Linked DNA regions of Homo sapiens: region 1 is linked to region 2. The links are contacts of gene promoters, found by promoter capture Hi-C in blood cells and fetal thymus (Javierre and others, 2016). All regions are on one chromosome and are shown on one strand. Each heading gives the region's core, a stretch centred on a gene start or on the middle of the fragment in contact. The rest is flanking DNA. Distances are from core to core; before and after follow the strand shown.

Evidence for each region. Contacts are between HindIII fragments. The CHiCAGO score rates a contact against its expected background, and 5 or more counts as called.
Region 1: a contact is called between a fragment that was not itself captured here and the fragment with the promoter of ADISSP in region 2, in 1 of 17 cell types (naive CD4 T cells). The highest score is 5.1, in naive CD4 T cells.

What each region holds. Positions count from the first base shown.
Region 1 is chr20:4,017,114-4,023,308 of GRCh38, forward strand. No RefSeq gene overlaps it. Among named protein-coding and RNA genes, the nearest start is that of RNF24, 4.7 kb to the left of the region's middle. RefSeq lists an enhancer at 1-172. The HindIII fragment of the contact is 1,376 bases long and covers 1,299-2,674 here.
Region 2 is chr20:3,766,104-3,771,194 of GRCh38, forward strand. It overlaps ADISSP (adipose secreted signaling protein), which reads right to left and starts at 1,650. Exons shown (of 6, transcript NM_001258429.2): 1 at 1,560-1,650. RefSeq lists enhancers at 795-1,559, 1,687-2,273, 2,935-2,984 and a silencer at 1,545-1,784. The HindIII fragment of the contact is 5,584 bases long and covers 1-5,091 here.

The DNA of each region.
Region 1 (6,195 bases), core at 737-3,236, 250 kb after region 2:
AGCAAAAGTCATCATGGCAAGCGCCTAGAGGCATGTTCCTTCTGCTTTGGCAAACCATTAACCACCAAGGCAGGGAGGAAGTAAAGAGGGAAACATTAGTGAATTTCTCAAGAAGTCACCTGCCACCCAATGGTCACAGTCCCCCAAAGTGAGAGAAGGGTGGAGGCATGTGCTAGGGAGACTGTGGCAAAAGGAAGGGAGTGGGAGACCCAGGCTTCCTCTAGAGCTGCCTGTGCCAGGGCTGTGCTGGGGGAACACTGCCCTCCTTGCTGTCAATCATAGCAGTTACCTGGAGGGTCTTTTCAACTTTGCTTTGCTCAAACCTCTCACTGTTCTAAATCAGCCCCCTCATCTCTCCCCTGGGCTGTTGCAGAAGTCTCAATCCATTCTCATGCAAATCGATTCTCATGGTATTCAAATCTGCCTGTGTTTCTGTCTTTTTCTTTTTCCCTGCCCCATCTGGCTCCTTGAGCCTTATTTTCCAGCCATTTACAGAACAGCACCATGGTGTTTCACCTCAGTAGTCACCAAGGTGACTGCTGTTTCCTGCTGTTCCCCTACTAGGAAAGCAATACTTACCTAGCATGCAAAAGTTGCTCTTTTCTCTGAAAATCCACAGATGCTTTTTAGGGCAGTGAAAATACTCTGTGTATGATACCATAATGGTGGATACCTGTCATGACACATTTGTCTAAATCCATAGAATGAATAATACCAGCAGCAAACTCTAATGTAAACATGGATTTTGGGTGATAATGATGTGCCAATGTAGGTCCAACAATAGTAATAAATGCTCCCGTGGGAGAATGTTTATAATGGGGGGGCTATGTATGTGTAGGGGGGAAGGGCTAGTTGGGAACTCTGCACATTCCTCTCACTTTTGTGGCAAACTTAAAACTGCTCTAAAAAAAAGTAAAGTATTTACAAAGTCATTTTTGATAAAGTATTTTTTTCTGCCCCCACTTATTGACAGACTTTCCTTGAGAATCCCCACCTGTGCCCTGTACCCACTTCCCTCTCAGCACTAGGCACCCTCCAAGGTCCCTGCTCATTTGCATATTTTCTTACCACACCAGCATGTGAGTCCTTCATCAGCAGGATCAGTATCTCCCAGGACCTAATATGTGACTGGCACATAGTGGGTCTGCTGTGGCTATTGGTGGAGGTGATGTTCCCTGGTGGGCTGGGGAGGCTCCACAGGAGAAGGAAAGGCTGAGCTCCTTTTCTTTCTTCTTCCTTATTTTGGCTTCCTTCCTCTGCCCTGCGTTTGGAAACCTGTTTTGTTTGTTTGTTTAGAAAGCTTGGCTAGTAATTCACTAGTCCAATCAGGCTGTAGGGTAGAGGATGGAGTGGCTCATTTCATGTCTTTTGTTCTTGAAAAAATTAGGGGTGAGTGGGAAAGAGAATGAGAGAATGAACGGAAGGAGGAGGGGCCGTGTCCAGTTGCTGTTTTCAGGGAGACTCATCTTATTAAAATTTTGCTGTGTCATCAACTGGCCCAACTGGTTTTTAGGGTCAAGGAGAAAGTTTTCCTTTGGGACTGGACAGGTGGAATCTGGCCTCACAGTTTCTACAACATATGGCAGGATCCTGCTCTTCTGTCCCCTGTAGCGGGTTGTCCCGTGTTCCCCTTAAGGAAGAAATCACAGTTTTTGTCCTCCTGGTGCTTCCGGCTGGAGGTTCACCTGCTAGTCCCTGATCCTCTTTGCTTAGTGATGCACATGAGTCTACTCATCCCCCCACCACTCCCAGCCCCCACTGGTCTAGGCAAAATGCAAGTGATGGGAGAGTGTGGGTGGGCAATTCTTTCTCTGGAGGGTTTAGGTGGGTACCTCAAAACAGCAGGCAGCTAGGACTTGAAGTGGTGGCTTCGCAGCTAACATTTTCCTTGTTCCACATGATGGGTAGGGGTAGGGTAGGGAAGACTTCACTGTTTGGAGTTTCGGAGGATGCCCCTCTTTCTCTTTATCCTTCCTCCCCACAGTCCCCTCCCATCTCCTCCCTTATACCTCTTTTTTTTTTTTTTTTTTTTTTTTGAGATGGAGTTTCGCTCTTGTTGCCTGGGCTGGAGTACAGTGGCGCCATCTCGGCTCACTGCAACCTCCATCTCCCAGGTTCAAGCAATTCTCCTGCCTCAGCCTCCTGAGTAGCTGGGATTACAGGCATGCGCCACCACGCCCAGCTAATTTTGTATTTTTAGTAGAGACGGGGTTTCTCCATGTTGGTCAGGCTTGTCTCAAACTCCTGACCTGAGGTGATCCACCTGCCTCGGCCTCCGAAATTGCTGGGATTACAGGTGTAAGCCACCACGCCCAGCCCTTATACCTCCTTTTAAGCAATGTCCTCACCCCAAATCCATCTCAGAAAATTGTCCCTACCCATATGGTCAGAAGTCCTTCAAGACTCCTGGAAAAGAAATCACAACTACTTTTAAATCAAACGTCTGACTAATTTTGGAACAGTGAGAACAGGGGCTGGTTTTAGTCATCTTTGGATCAGGTGCCCAATACAAGTTTGTTGAATGAATGCCTGACTGGTCAAGACAAAATCAGTCTTTCAAACAGAAGCTAGAAATCAAAGGTTGCCTATAGCCCCATTCCTCTGTCCATCCTCCCCATCTGTTGAGATGGCACGATTTCAGAAAAACATCCCTCCCACTGGTCAATCCTTTGAAAGCTTAATTATTCAGAGTTCTAAATGACCCCTTTAAGGGTTGATCATATAATGCTTTGACCCGTTGGACTGTGCCAGTAGAGGAGGAGATGTTCTGTGTTCCCCGAGCCTCTTCATCCAAGAATTCCAAAGTGACTCCTCCTGCCTTGATCCCTCCCAATGGCCCTCTCCTCCTCATAGCCCATGGGGACCTCTTGCTGGGGCGTGACGCTGCCCACGGAGGGGTGGAATTGCTTCTTCTTTTTTTTTTTTTAGATGAAGTCTCTCTGTCGCCCAGGCTAGAGTGCAGTGGTGCAATCTTGGCTCACTGTAACCTCCGCCTCCTGGGTTCAAGTGATTCTCCTGCCTCAGCCTCCCGAGTAGTTGGGATTACAGGCACCTGCCACTGCGCCCAGCTAATTTTTGTATTTTTAGAAGAGACAGGGTTTCACCATCTTGGCCAGGCTGGTCTCGAACTCCTGACCTCAAGATCCACCCGCCTCGGCCTCCCAAAGTGCTGGAATTACAGGCATGAGCCACCGGAATTGCTTCTTAATGCAGAATGTGTGTGCAAGACTGTGAAACAGCAAGAGTTGGGGAGAAAGCGTAGGTTTCTGTGTGCATGGTACCTTTAGGACTGGCTGTGTGTCCACCCACAAGCCAGCGAAGGAGGTGGGAACCTGGGATTCTGTTTACCCAGCCACCAACAAGCCCCGTTGCCTTTCTGGCACACACAAGCCCAATCACCCAGAACTCCTGAAAATATAAATGTTCTCAAGATCTCATGTGGGAGCTTTTTAGCTGAGACCAGCCACACATGCAGGAGACTGGAAGCACTATTTCCCAGGGGTGGAACAACCTGCTCAGACTCACTTTTAGATTGGAGGATACCCATCTCAGCGTGGATTCTCCCAAGAACAGATCTTAAGACAAGGGCTTGGATGTAGGTAATTTACTTGGGAGGTGATTCCAGGAAATAAGAGTGAAGAAATGGGGAAAGCAAGCTGTGAAAGGGAGAGAAGCCAACAGTAAGGTATGCTGATGGGCCAGTTACTGCCATGGGCAACTGAGGCTCAGTCTGGCTTGGCGTCCACTGAGAAACCTTGTAGAACAGCCCTCAGCATTGTCTGCCTGGATGACCAGGAGGCCAGAGTATTTCTCCACTGACTTCAGTGTCTTGGTTGCTTTTCTTTTCTTTTTTTTTTTGAGACGGAGTTTCGCTCTTGTTGCCCAGGCAGGAGTGCAGTGGCATGATCTCAGCTCACTGCAACCTCCGCCTCCCGGGTTCAAGAGATTCTCCTGCCTCAGCCTCTCAGGTAGCTGGGATTACAGGCATGCGCCACCATGCCTGGCTAATTTTGTATTTTTTTAGTAGAGACGGGGTTTCTCCATGTTGGTCAGGCTGGTCTTGAACTCCCGACCTCACGTGATCCACCTGCCTTGGCCTCCCAAAGTGCTGGGATTACAGGCATGAGCCACCGCGCCTGGCCCTCTTTTCTTTTCTTTTCTTTTTTTGAGACAGAGTCTCACTCTTGTCACCCAGGCTGGAGTGCAGTGGCGCCATCTAGACTCATTGCAACCTCTGCCTCCTGGTTGTTCAAGTGATTCTTGTGCCTCAGCCTCCTGAATAGTTGGGATTACAGGCGTGTGCCACCATGCCCAGCTAAATTTTGTATTCTTAGTAGAGACAGGGTTTTGCCATGTTGGCCAGGCTGGTCTCAAAATCCTGGCCTTGAGTGATCTGCCCAGCTCAGCCTCCCAGAGGGTACTTTCAAGTTACATCTATGGAACAAAGCAAGCCGCTCTGCTAAGCTCCTCCAGTTATTGATTACACAACCCCCACAGCTGTGACCACCATTTGGCTACCACCATCATCACAGCTTCTGCCCCTCCAATTTCCCCCAGCCAATTATATCACTGCCTTTTCTCTCTGCTAGGTTCTGTTAGGCCTGAGCTTTAAAGAGAAAGGAATAAAGTGGAATGATATATCTTTGCCCATAACTCATTCTAGGAAAAAGGAACTATGCTGGTTTTCTTTTTCCTCCATTTCAACCTATCCAATCTACCCAAATAGTTCCCAATCATTATCACCTCATCCCAAAGCAACAGACGGGAAAGAGGAACAGGGCAAGAAAGCAGACAGGCTTTCTGGAGTGACTTTTATCCCCACAGAGTCATAGATGCAGAGTTGGAAGAGATGAATTCTCTCATTTGGGAGATAAGGACACCATGCAGATAAAGAGACTCTGTATCTTCTGCTTTTCCTGCTGCTGCAGTGCTTCCTCCAGGCAGGCTTCCTTAGTTTTTCTTGGCTTCCTACCCTTCCAACCTACGCCATCATAATCTGGACTCCAGCCCTTTATTCCCTCAAAGGCTGACTCAGGCCATGACTGAGGGAAGAAGCTTGGATTCTGTAGTGGAACAGCATTGTCCATGGGGAGACACGGCTTCCATCCCAGGCCTTTGGTTCCATTACTTAGTTTCTCACTTGCCTGTCTGTCATCCAAAGGGGCTCACAAGGAGGGGAATGCAGGGAGGAGACATCTCCCTAATACCATTGGAGTTTTTTTCCAGGTTAAGATGGTGCATTGAATCCACCCATCTACTTTTGCTCCTCCCAAAACTCACTAAAACTATTATAAAGGGATTTTGTTTAAAGACACAAACTCATGAGGACAGAGAGAACAGAGTAGACAATAGTGGGGGAAAAATAAGTTGGAAGATAGAAAACAGATGGGTGAGTGGTAATCGACTCAGCAGCCCCAAGAAAGCTGAAACCCAGGGAAAGTTAAGAGTAGCCCTATTTTCATGGCAAAATCCAAGGGGGGGTGGGGAAAGAAAGAAAAACAGAAAAAAAAATGGGAATTGGCAGTCCTAGATATCTCTGGTACTGGGCAAGCCAAAGAATCAGGATAACTGGGTGAAAGGTGATTGGGAAGCAGTTAAAATCTTAGTTCCCCTCTTCCACTCTCCGAGCAGCAGGTTTCTCTCTCTCATCAGGCAGAGGGCTGGAGATTTCACCTCCGGAGAGAGTAAAAAGGAGGATCTCTGGGCTGGGGCACCAGGCGTGGCTGAGGACAAAGGTGGCATGTGGAGAACAGGGGCGTTAAGTGACTATTTCCTCACTGCATGCTGAGAACCTCAGCTTTCTTCTCTGATCACTTCCCAAATCACTGGCAGCTACTCTCCACCTCTCTTCTCTGAGCACTCTGACCAGCCAAAAGGGAAAGAATGAAGGATACTGGCATTCAGATTTCCAGTAAACGACCATCCATGTCTCCCTACGGTGAATCACAGTTGACAAGCCCAGTTCCTGCACTCAGGGTTTTTCATAGTCCTTTACTCTTAATCAAGAGCAGAGAGCTAAAGATTATGTCTTAGGTTCCCTAGAAACAGAAGCTGTGATGCAGATTCAGATGCATGCGATTTATTGCGGGCGGGCCCTCAGAAGAAGCTCCTTTTTCCACCTCCAGAAAGAGCATGGAAAGGAACTGAGCAAGGATGTGGTCTTGGCTGGAGTCTAGCCTCAGTCTGACCCACAGG
Region 2 (5,091 bases), core at 400-2,899:
CCCTACCTCTTCCTCTCCTACCCCAGCCTGGGGCTCAGTCCTGGCTCAAGCACTCAGTCCAGCAGAAGCACTGTGTAGCCTCCCATTAAAGCTCACGCCTGTGAAAAGAACAGCCATTGAGGCCTTGAGATGGGGCCACACTGACCCGCTGACTCTCAGGACTGGACACAGCAGAGGCCACACATACTCAGAACAAAGCCTGGAAAGGCAAGGCTGGAGGTCAGTAGTTGTGGCAGCTTCACATCAACTCAGCTTTAATGTGATTTAATTTCCTTCTCCCTCCAGTGGGCCAAAGGTGCAAAGATAAGTATGGCTGTTCTCTCTCCTTCTAACAGTGAGGTGCTGGGGGTGGGGGTGGGGGAATATGGAGAAGGGACCCTCACCACCCACACCTTCCTGCCTCCCCAACAAGTGCTGCCCTCCTCTGCCCAGCATTCTCCCCACTTTGCCCTCAGCTAGTGGGTGCTTAGCCTCCAGATAGCATGCCCCACCTAGGCCCTGCCCTGGGCCTGTGATCCAGAGGTCCCAAGAAGCAGAGGCCAGGCTGGATCCAGGGGGTCAGCCAAGGTGAGGGTGGGAGCACACAGGATTATCTCCCAGGGACAGGGCTGCTGCCTCGTAGCTCAGGATGGATAGAATGTGGGGGGATATCCAGCTACATTTTCCCTCCACAAAAGACCAGAATGGGAGAGGGATGGGGTGCTGCCCCGACTTTCTTCAACTCCCCGGAGCAGAAAAATGCCCTACCTCCACTTTCCAGTGCCAAGATTCAAGAAGAAAGGCAAGCGGAGACTTCCCTTTCTCAGTCCCTGCTTACTAATGGAAACACGGGTCCAGAACCTAAATCCAGTCCCTCCTCCTTCATACCACCGGGAGGGAGGTGCAGCCCAAGCCCCCGAGGCCCCAAGGGTCCAGGTGTAGGACCCTTTATCCTCTCCGGCAGCCATCCCTGTGGGTGTGGCACCCCCGCCACACCCCATTCTTGTCATCTCAGGGGGAGGGGGGAAATGTAATCGGACATCCCCCCCATCCAATCCATCCTGAGCTGCGAGGCGGCGGCTCTGTCCCTCGGAGATAATCCTGTGCACTCCCCACCTTCACTCACCTCGGCTGACGCAGGAGTCTCCGGAGCCCGCACTCCCAGACATCACTGCCCTCCTTCCTGAGGGTGCTGAGGCTCGGAGGCTCAGAGATGCTACTGGTCCAAGGTCATGCAGCGAGGCAGCGGCAATGAACAGGGTCGTGGGGAGGAGGGGGCGCTGACCCCATTACGCCCCCGCCCTCACTACCGCACTCATGCCCCCGGACAATCGCTTCGCGGAAAACACCCCAGCTGCACCAGCTAACGGTCACTGCGCCCCGGGAACCTGACATCACTCTAGTTCAGGTGCTGGGGAGTCCTCCAGGCCCGGCCCCGACAGCGGAGCCCCCCACCCCAGCCCTGCCATCACGGCCGCTGGGGTCCCAGGCACTGACTGCTCAGGACAGGGCCGGGACCGGGAGGGGACCTCGGCGAACGGGAAGGAACCGGGAGGCAGGGAGCAGAGGGGTGGCCTCACCTTGCGGGGTGCACCCCGGGGCCGGGGAGGGCAGGGACGACCACTGCAGCGGCGGCGGCTGCAGGAGCTCAACGCCGAGCACGAGGAAGGGAGCCCCGCGCCGCGGCCGCCCTCCCGTCGGCACGCCCCCGCCTCCGCCCATTGGTTGATCTGGGAGGGTGGGGCGAGGGACGCTCCGGACCAATGAGCGGGCTCCAAAGAACGGCCAACTGGCGAGGGCCGCCTACGTCACGTGCCAGGGTCGCCGAGGCAGCGCCCTGCTAGTCCGCGCCTGCCGGGCGAGCTCTCGCGAGGAAGACGGGCAGGCGGCCCAACTAGGCCAGGGGCCAGAACCGACCACTCGAAGAGGGAGAAGGAGGGCCTCGGATAGGCCCCGCCCCCGCTCCTTCTTCCGCCTGGGGGATAGCGCCTCTAGCCTTGAACCTTGCTTAGGACGCACCTCCCTTGGGCCCTTCGCTCTCGGGAGGGCTGTCGGGCGCGTCTCGGGGCTGGGTGGAGCTCCCGAAGGTGGCCTTTCTCCCTGGGCTTCCACGCCGGCTTCGGCCATCGATACGGGCCGTGTTGGTCTCGTTCAGGAGCTGAGGAACCCTCCATCACTCCTGTTTCGACCCCAGGGTTTGGACCTCTTCCCCTTCCACCCCATCCCCTGTCTCGAAAGAAGCAACCCCCGTGCGGGCCCGAGACGCGTCCCGGGTGCCTGGCCCGGCCTGGAGAAGCATCAGAACAAAGAAGGCACGCGGGCTGGGGGCTGGGAGAGCCTGTGACGCGCCCCCGGGGACCGCAGCCTCTGCTCCCGGTCTCCATGGAGGCGGTCGCCATGGCAGCGAGATGCGCCTCGCTCAGCACCGCGGGGTGGGATGTGGGCGCCTGCAATGAGCCGAGGAGCGAGAGGCGTGGCCCTCCGGTCTGCGGGGGTTCTTGCCGGTGCTCTCCGCCCGCCGGTTCGCGAACACCCCACCTATACTTCGCCCGTGGGGACGGATTCCCCAAAGTGCCCTCAGTAAGCCGTCCGGAGCACGCAGCGCCTTGCTTCCAACGGAACTAGAGAGACGGCCTGGGCGGCCGAAGGCCAGCCTCCCTTCAGCAGGGCCGGGGTCGCTGCCTTAAAGGAGCCCTCAAGTCTGCCACCCTGTGGCCCATAACCTGTCTGCTGATCTCCAGTCTGCACACTGTTGGCAAATTAATCTTTCTGAGCTCTTGTTTTCATCGCGTCCCTCTCCTGCTCCAAAGCCCTCTGGGACTGCCTCCAGTAGCGCTTCACAAACTTCAGCAGCACTTTGGGTGACTCATGTGCCCTCGCGTTTGAGAGACAGCGCTTACATTGAGAGCTTTTCACATTCTGATCTCAGCCCATCCACTCCTGCCCACTCTACCCACTCCCACCACACTACCTTTAGACCTTGTCTTGAAAGTCTAAAGTTGGCAGACGGTGGGCCCAAAGTGGCCCGTAGGTGTATTTTGTTTAGCTCACATGGGGCTTTTTAAAAGAAGTCCTTCCCCCTCCTGCCTCCTCCGCCTCTTTCTGGAATCAGGAATCTGGTTTCGTGGCTTTTGAAATATCAGAAGATCTGACAACATGGGCTCACTTTCCAGCCTGGCATTACAAGCCCCTTTAAGAGCACATAAATTTACCATAGTCCCCGCTAATCCCTGTTTCTCACGGTTAGTTACCTTCTGGGTCTGTGCAGACATTTGTGATCCCCTCCCCCTCATTATCCCACCTTCCAACCTGGAAGGCCCTCCCCGCTCTCTTCTCATAGCCAAAATTCAAGCCCTCTTCAACCAAGATAAGTTTTGCCTATTTATTTATTTATTTATTTTTGAGACAGAGTCTCACTCTGTCGCCCAGGCTTGAGTTCAGTGGTGCCATCTCGGCTGACTACAGCCTCCACCCCCTCCCCCGCCGGGTTCAAGCCATTCTCCTGCCTCAGCCTCCCAAGTAGCTGGGATTCTAGGTGCGCGCCACCACACCCAGGGCTAATTTTTGTATTTTTAGTGGAGACAGGGTTTCACCATGTTGGTCAGGTGGGTCTCAAACTCCTAGCCTCAAGTGATCTGCCTGCCTCAGCCTCCCAAAGTGCTGGGATTACAGGCATGAGCCACCGCGCCTGGCCCAAGCCTGCCTTTTTCAAAAGTCTTTCTAGCCAACTTCTCAAAACCATCTCTGGTGTGGGCTCTCTCAAACACAAACTGGCTGCTAACTGCACAGCCCGGGGTTATTTCCGAATTGTCAACTCCTTTCAGCAAACATTTACTGAATGTATCTGATGAGTAAGTTATTGTGCTAGGCTCTGTGGAGTGGAAGGCACTCACAGTTTAGTGTAGGAGGGACACCACACACAAAGAACTGTGGTCTCCTGTCCTTGCCAAATGTTCCTCACACTCCCAGGCATCGGGCAGTCTGGCCCACTGGGAGGAGCTGAAATACAGAGCTGCCCATGCCTAGGGATACTACATGCTCTCAGGGAAGGCCAAAGATGGTTCTGGAAAGCCTCCAGGAGAAAATTAGACTCTTTGTGTCAGGAGGAAGTCAGGGCAGGAGTTACCTGGCTGCCCCATCACTGCCCAATGTGTCTGTGTTACCACACGAGTAGTGCCCAGGCTCTGGGGCTTCCTGTGCGGAGGGCCTTACCAAAGATAGATGGCTCTGCAAGGGAAACCACAGGCCCCTACCAGGCCCCCTGGAGACAGAGGCAGGACAAGAAGAATCAGGAACAACTCCAGGTTAGGAGAACAGATGGAGCACGTATAAAACATCCACTCACGGCCGGGCGTGGTGGCTCACGCCTGTAATCCCAGCACTTTGGGAGGCTGAGATGGGCGGATCATGAGGTCAGGAGATCAAGACCATCCTGGCTAACACGGTGAAACCCCGTCTCTACTAAAAATACAAAAAATTAGCCGGGCATGGTGGCTGATGCCTGTAGTCCCAGCTACTCGGGAGGCTGAGGCAGGAGAATGGCGTGAACCCGGGAGGCGGAGCTTGCAGTGAGCCGAGATTGCGCCACTGCACTCCAGCTTGGGCGACTGAGCCAGACTCCATCTCCAAAAAAAAAAAAAAAAAAATCCACTCACCATGAGAACCTGGTGACTTTTAAAAAAAAACAAAAAAACACAACACTTGCTACAACTCCAAACACACGGTTTTTTGTTTTTTTTTTTATTTTTCAGAGACAGGGTCTCACTATGTTGCCCAGGCTGGTCTCAAACTCTTGGCCTCAAGCGATCCCCCGACCTTGGGCTCCTAATGTGCTGGGACCAGACCAGAGGCACAAGCCACTGTGCCCAGCCCTCTATTCTTTTTAATTAAAAATTAAACAACTATAACCTCATTGGAAAACTGCTTGGCAGTACCTAATAAAAATGATAAATGAAATGAGTAATTCCACTTTTTTTTTTTTTTTGAGACAGAGTCTTACTCTGTCACCCAGGCTGGAATGCAGTGGTGCGATCTCAGCTCTCTACAACCTCTGCCTCCTGGGCTCAAGCACTCCTCCCACCTCAGCCTCCCCAGTAGCCAGGACTACAGGCA